Linked DNA regions of Homo sapiens: region 2 is linked to region 1. The links are contacts of gene promoters, found by promoter capture Hi-C in human tissues and cell types (Jung and others, 2019). All regions are on one chromosome and are shown on one strand. Each heading gives the region's core, a stretch centred on a gene start or on the middle of the fragment in contact. The rest is flanking DNA. Distances are from core to core; before and after follow the strand shown. Region 1 holds the start of GDPD4 (glycerophosphodiester phosphodiesterase domain containing 4). Region 2 overlaps GDPD4 (glycerophosphodiester phosphodiesterase domain containing 4).

Region 1 (3,513 bases), core at 755-3,254:
TTATTTGGAGGGATATATAGAACACACAGGAGAAGGTAGTTAATCAAATCTGGTGGTGAGAAATAGGGGTGAGGCTGAACAAAGAAGGCTTCCTGAATTGAGCCTCACACTAAGAGAAGGAGTGTTAGCCCGGTCAACTTTGGGAGTGTATAAGCCTGCCAGTAGGGACAGCGTGAATAAACATACAGAATGGTGTAGGGGAGTAGAACAAGAGGTTTGCTTTGCTGAAGCTTCAATGTAAGTGGTGATGGAGGAGAGTTGGGGGCAAGTTGAGGCTGGAGAGAAAGGTGAGATCCAATTTAAGGAGCTTTAATTTTTGGAATGTGTTTTAGGCATAGTCAGATTTGCATTTTTAAAAGATCAACAGTTGGTCTTAGATTTTGGGAGAGGTAAACTGGAAACAGTGAGGCGCTTTGGGAGTCTGCTGCAGTCTACCTTAACGTAGCGGTATTAAGCTGGGTTGGCATGTACTGAGATGATTAGGGCCTAGTGGGCATTGAAATGCAATAAGATAATGACTAGGCGAAATAGGAAGTATCCTAATAAGCAGAATTTGGTCACTCTGTGTAAGGTGGAGGGTTGGGGGGTTGCAAAGGAATAGGAGGAGTTGAGGATGAGACATCTGTTTCACATCTTGTCATTTAGTGATTTAGAGCCATAGAAGATGGAGCAGACATGAAGGGAAAGATAATGAATTTAAGTTAGGGTTTACTGAGTTTGAGGTGTCTGCAGCAGGACGGCCAGATTGAAGGCCAGTGGCTGGCAGTTGGAGATAAAGGTCTAGAGCTCAGGAACGAGGTCAGAGTCAGAGAAATGGCTAGAGGAATCAAAGATTAAACAAACAAAAGCGAAAACAGGCCCATTTGTGGCCCTTTGAGTGGTTGAAACTGGTTTAAAAAAGGTAAGGCAAAGTGGGGATGGTTACTGGGTACAACAGATATATAGTTAGAATAAATAGGATCTAATATTTGACAGCACAACAAGGCGACTACAGTCAGCAATTATTTATTGAACATTTTTAAAAATAACTAAGAGTGTAACTGGAACGTTCATAACCCAAAGAAATGATAAATGCTTAGGTGATGGATACTCAGTGTACCTGATGTGATTCTTTTTTTTTTTTAGATGGAGTTTCACTCTTGTTGCCCAGGTTGGAGTGCAGTGGTGCTATCTCGGCTCACTACAACCTCTGCCTCCCAGGTTCAAGTGATTCTCCTGCCTCAGCCTCCTGAGTAGCTGGGATTACAGGAATCCACCACTGTGCCCGGCTAATTTTTTTGTATTTTAGTAGAGACAGGGTTTCATCATGTTGGCCTGGCTGGTCTCGAACTCCTGACCTCAGGTGATCCACCTGCCTCGGCCTCCCAAACTGCTGGGATTACAGGCGTGAGCCACTGTGCCTGGCCTCCTGATGTGATTCTTACACATTGTATACCTTTATCAGAATATCTCATGTATTCCTACTATGAGTTGTATAAATAATACACTTATTATGTACCCATAAAAATTAAAAATTTGTTTTAAAAAGGCAGAAAAAATAGTTAAAAATAAAATAAAATAAAGAGGTAGCCTGGGCGTGGTGGCTGGGGGGCACAGGGCTGTAGTCCCAGCTACTCTTCAGGCTGAGGCAGGAGGCTGCTTGAGCCCAAGTTTGAGGCCCAGACTGGGCGACAAGACCCCGTCTCTTAAAAAATATATAAATATATAGATAGATGTATATATATATATGGCAATTTTATGAATAACTGGGATACAAAAAATTGGTAATGCTTGAACTAAGTTATTAACAAGGACTAAACTTAAACAGTCAAGTTCTTTTTGTAAGAACCAAACCAAACCAAAAACAAAGAGAGCATACCTTACCGGACATTTAAAAGGTGGGGCTCTGAGCCAAGGCTGGGGGTCTGGCCTTAGCTTCAGCCTTGCTCTGGCACGGGGTGTCCTTGACCACGCCCACAGCCCCGCCAGGCCGCCCCCTCCCGCCCCGCCTCCCTCGGGCTGCCCTTCCAGCCAGGCGTCCATCTTAAGAGACGCTGGTCTCCTCAGGCGTGAAGATTGGATTTGGGTTGGGACTGGGAAGTCTCGGTAAGTAAATGTGCCCAGTTCCGTGCTTCCTCCCTAAGCAGCACCAGAAGCAGGAAGTTCTATTAGTATTATTAGTCGGCGGCCAAACTTGAGGCCCTTTGACGTTGTTCGCTCACTCTGTCGGGTCGTTTGTGTCCCCTCTCGAGGATTACGGGCCTGGACCTCCTGTTCAGTATCTGACAGTAGCGGCTTCGTGTATTTTCTAGTTTTCTAGTTGTTAATGGCGAAGGGGATAAAAATCAGCTTCGACTATGCCAATCCTGGGCGGCAACCCTTGGGTTTTGATCTCATGAGCTGGGGAATGGCGGTGACCTTTACTGAGATGGGACAGATTGCAGGAGGAATCGATTTTAGAGGGAAAAAACATCAGGGGTTCAGTTTTGGACATATTACTTTTGAGGTGCCTGTGAGAAATCCAAATGGAGATTTCAGTAGCCTGTCGGATATATGAGTGTAGAATTCAGAGAAGAGCTCTGGGAAGGAAACAGTGTTTCTCGATCTCCCCTTAAATATTAGGAATTTTCATGTAAACGTGGCTACGCTGGCTGGTGCTTAGACACAAAGTATCTGCAGGTGTGTAGACAATGGTGGTGGTAATTATTCTGGTTAAAAAGCTGCCTTTTATTCGATATCCAAGCAGCTTACCATCCTCCCATAGAGCTTTTTGTTCATAACGTCTGCCCTTGGACACCCCAGTATTTGCAATTAGTCACACCAAGTTCTATATATATGCAGTAGTTTCATCATTAACCAACTGAAAGTTTTTTTCTCATTTCCATTGTGATTTTTCTTTGACCATGCGTAGGTTTCTGTGTGTTTAATTCCCAAATGTGCAATTTGTTTTTCTTACTGATTTCCAGTTAAATTGCACTGTAGTCAGAAGATATATTCTTAAGATGTCAAGGTTTATTAAAACCAATTGTGATTTTTGATAAATATTCCATGTCCATTTTAAAGTACACTCTGCATTTGTTGAGTACAGTGTTCTATAAATGTTAAGACTAGTTAATCAACTTTTACAGTCGTCTATATCCTTACAGACTTTTTTTCTGCTTATTCTGTTTTTTTTTTAAGAGGTGTGTTAAATCTCCTACCATGATTATGCATTTGTCCATTTCTCCCTTAGAGACTAGGTGATTGGGTACTGTTATAGTTTCGGTGCCGCAAAAGAAATAGCACTCAAATATAAAATTTTCTTTTTAATTCTTAGCAAGGCAATATACTTCTATAGAAGGGTGCACCCTTACATATGGAGCAATGGTGAGCACACACTTGGACAAGGGAGGGGAAGGGGTTCTTATTCCTGACACACGTGGCCCCTGCTGCTGTGTCGTTCCCCTATTGGCTAGTGTTAGACCGCACAGGCTAAACTAATTCCAATTGGCTAATTTAGAGAGAGTGACGGGGTGAGTGGTTTGGCGGGAGTGA
Region 2 (3,513 bases), core at 332-2,831, 75 kb after region 1:
CTCAGCCTCCCGAGTAGCTGGGATTACAGGTGCCTGCCACTGTGCCTGGCTAATTTTTTTTTTTTTTTTTTTTTTTTTTTTTGAGACGGAGTCTTGCTCTGTCACCCAGGCTGGAGTATAGTGTCACGATCTCGGCTCACTGCAACCTCCGCCTCCTGGGTTCAAGCGATTCTCCTGCCTCAGCCTCCCGAGTAGCTGGAACTACAGGCACCACCATGCCCAGCTAATTTTTTTTAAAAATATTTTTAGTAGAGGTGGGGTTTCACCATATTGGTCAGGCTGGTCTTGAACTCCTGACCTTGTGATCTGCCCGCCTCGGCCTCCCAAAGTGCCGGGATTACAGGGGTGAGCCACCCTGCCTGGCCCATGCCTGGCTAATTTTTGTATTTTTAGTAGAGATGGGGTTTCACCATGTTGGCCCCGCCTCAGGTGATCCGCCTGCCTCAGCCTCCCAAAGTGCTGGCATTACAGGTGTGAGCCACCGTGCCTCGCCCATAATCTTTTTATCTGTAGAAGAAAATGACATTTGGGAATCCTTGCAGGCAAATGCTATAGGATTGTAAGTTTCAAGATGGAAGGGGGAAGAAGATCCTGGAGGAGGAACGTTAGAAGAGACCATGATTCTTTAGACCCCTTCATTTCATGGATGGTCTGCTTCCTTCTAGGCGGAGAGAGACTGAAAAAGAAAAATTGTTTGAAACCTCCAGCACTCGCACAGGTAAAGTCAGAGGCCTAGCCCACTCCTGTCTCTTCATCCCTACCCATTGCTTCCAGGAGACAGAGGCAGCTTTTCATGTCCCTGACAAGAGCTGAGGGTGTCTGGAAAGTTGGGGGTGGGGTTGGGGGAGGGACCAGGGGAAGTATAGGCTGGGCATAGATTCTGGAGGACTCTGTACATCAGGCTTCAGATTTTAGATTTCATCCTCTAAGCAGTGAGGCCCCTTGGAAGATTTCAAGCATGGGTGTTTACTTCTTCATATATTCATGTATCATACAGCCACTGAGTCCACACTTTGTGCAAGGCACTTAGAGAGGGGCTGAAGATAACCGAAAGATGTCTCTGGAGGGTGGCCTGAGAGAGGGGAGGGGCTGGTCCTTAAAGAGCAGTGAGGAAGAAGGCAAAAGTATAGCATTGACATCACTGGGCCAGGCATCTAGGTCCAGGACAGAGTAGCTGCCATGCCCATTAGGGGGAAGGTGCTTTATGGGTATCATTTGTGGGTGATATATGTTGGAGGCTAGAGGAAGAAAACTTCAGCGGTCCTGGAATTGCTAAACCAGAGTCAAGTCACTGCATATTGGCAGTTAGGAGATGGCATTATCGCTTTCATTCACACAAGGAAGCGACATGGTTAGATTTCTGTGTAAAGGGCTGAGGAAGTGAATTAGGCTTAGTAAGGGGAAGGGATGCTAGAGTTTCTTTGAGGGTTGTGAGGATGATCACACAGTAAGTTTTGGAAGCCAATGCAGTGTCAAAGGGAAACCAATTAGGAGGCAGAAGACTGCGCGGTGTGGGATATAATTTCCTTCCGCAACTCCTGGAGACTTAATTAAAGTTGGAACAGTCACAAAATCATGAATTTAATTTAATTTCTTATGGACAATGGTGAAGCTCCTGATATTCCATGTACCAGCTGGCAGATGAGTGGAACTGATACAACACTTAGGGTTGCAGGAATGAATCCACAGGGATCATGAAAAACTAAGTTTAGAAATTTGAATAAATTAAATAGAAGGCAATGGTCTTTCATATGCTGTGAAACTGGAGGTTTAAGCCAAGTTTACCCAGGTCTGAGGCAGGGCGACCTCAAGTTACATGGTTACTTGAGTTACAAATTACATGGAATTTAAGATCACTCTACTGGCTACGTTACAAAGTCTGAAGCTAACTGACGATTGCAGCTAGTTTATGATTATATCAGTAGTTGTTCCTTAGTAAGCTAGGGCTGCCATAACAAAATACCATAGACTGGGTGGCTTGAACAACAGAAATTTATTTTCTCACAGTTCTGGAGGCTAGAAATCCCAGATCAAGGTGCTGGCAAATTTGGTGAGGAGCCCTAGTGAGCACTGTCTTCTTAGCTTGAATGCAGCTGCCTTCTCACTGTGTGTTCACATGGCCTTTTCTGTGTGTGTGCTTGGGAGAGTGGGATCTCGGGTCTCTCTTCCTCTTCTCATAAGGGCACCAGTCCTGTTGGATTAGGGCCCCACCCTTATGGCTTCATTTAACCTTAATTACTCCTGAAGTGCCCTGTCTCCAAATACAGTCACACTGAGGGTTAGGACTCTGACATATGAAATTGGAGTTGGGGGGACATAATTCAGCCCATAACAATAATCCAGCCAAGCAGTGATAGAACATGGAGATGAGGAGGAAACATGGCTGGGAAAGAAGTTTTGAAAGTAAAATTGAAGAACTATATAAACCTAGATAAAAGAGGTGGCTTAGAAAAAGTAACAGTTAACTTGACCCTACCCACTACTATGCTAAAATGGTGATGAGAAAAGGTGAGTAGAAAATAAATGAAGGATTTTCTGTTTTTAAGAGCTCTTAGGTTGCCTATTAGAGAAACCAGTTTTTCTTGATCTAAGCAGAAAGAAAAGGCATTGGAAAGCTATTTGGGTACCTCAAAGAGATATCTAGAAGGTGCAGGACCAAGTTTAGAATCAGGGAAGGAACAAGGAAGACTAGACAGAAGTCAGGACCTCAGCCATAACCACAGCCCAGATCCATTAAAGTTGAGGAGAATGGAGCCTCATTTGCTAAATACGGAGTGCCATGTGTTGCCCCATGCCACCTCCAGGATGGGCACGTACTGCTGCACCTACTGATGCCATGTCTACCACCAGAAGGCCTCTCTCTAGTGTGAGGGGGTATTTTTCAGCAATTTAAGTCAATTTTGTTGTCTTCTGTCGTATGTAGTTTCTTATGTAAAGTTTCAGTTTTCTTACCCCTGTTCTTCTGTTTGTAACGTGTCTTTTTTCCTCTGGCTACATTTTAAGATTATTCCTTTTATTATTGGTTTTTAGTAGTTTGATTATGGCTTAACTTCGTGCGTGTGCGTGCATGTGAGAGGGAGAGAGAGACTATCTTGATTAGGGTTTGCTGAAATTCTTAGATCTGTCAGAGTATAATTTTCATCAAATTGGACATAATTTTAGTCTTTATTTCTTCAAATATTTTTCTGCCTCTGCTCCACCACTGCTTTCTGGGATTCCAGTTACACAGCTGTTTGTTAGTATATTATCCCATAGGTTACTGAGACTTTTTTTTTTTTTTTGAGACAGAGTCTTGCTCTGTTGCCCAGGCTGGAGTGCAGTGGCATGATCTCAGCTCACTGCAGCCTCCACCTCCCAGTTTCAAGCGATTCTCCTGCCTCAGTCTTCTGAGTAGTCATTTAAAATATTTAATTAATTTCCTTTATTTTTGGATAGATTCTATTGCTGTGTTTACTAGTTTTTTGTTTTGCTTGTTTAGAGGCAAGGTCTCACTCTTTCGCCCAAGTCTGGAGT

The links. The method cuts DNA at HindIII sites, captures the fragments that hold promoters and counts their contacts. A contact is called where the count stands out against the background at its distance.
Region 2: a contact is called between a fragment that was not itself captured here and the fragment with the promoter of GDPD4 in region 1, in 2 of the 25 tissues and cell types used here (neural progenitor cells and thymus).

The regions. Positions count from the first base shown.
Region 1 is chr11:77,300,177-77,303,689 of GRCh38, reverse strand. GDPD4 (glycerophosphodiester phosphodiesterase domain containing 4) reads left to right here and starts at 2,004. Exons shown (of 17, transcript NM_182833.3): 1 at 2,004-2,085. The HindIII fragment of the contact is 16,410 bases long and covers 1-3,513 here.
Region 2 is chr11:77,225,069-77,228,581 of GRCh38, reverse strand. GDPD4 (glycerophosphodiester phosphodiesterase domain containing 4) reads left to right here. Exons shown (of 17, transcript NM_182833.3): 16 at 666-718. Among named protein-coding and RNA genes, the nearest start is that of GDPD4, 75 kb to the left of the region's middle. The HindIII fragment of the contact is 7,413 bases long and covers 1-3,513 here.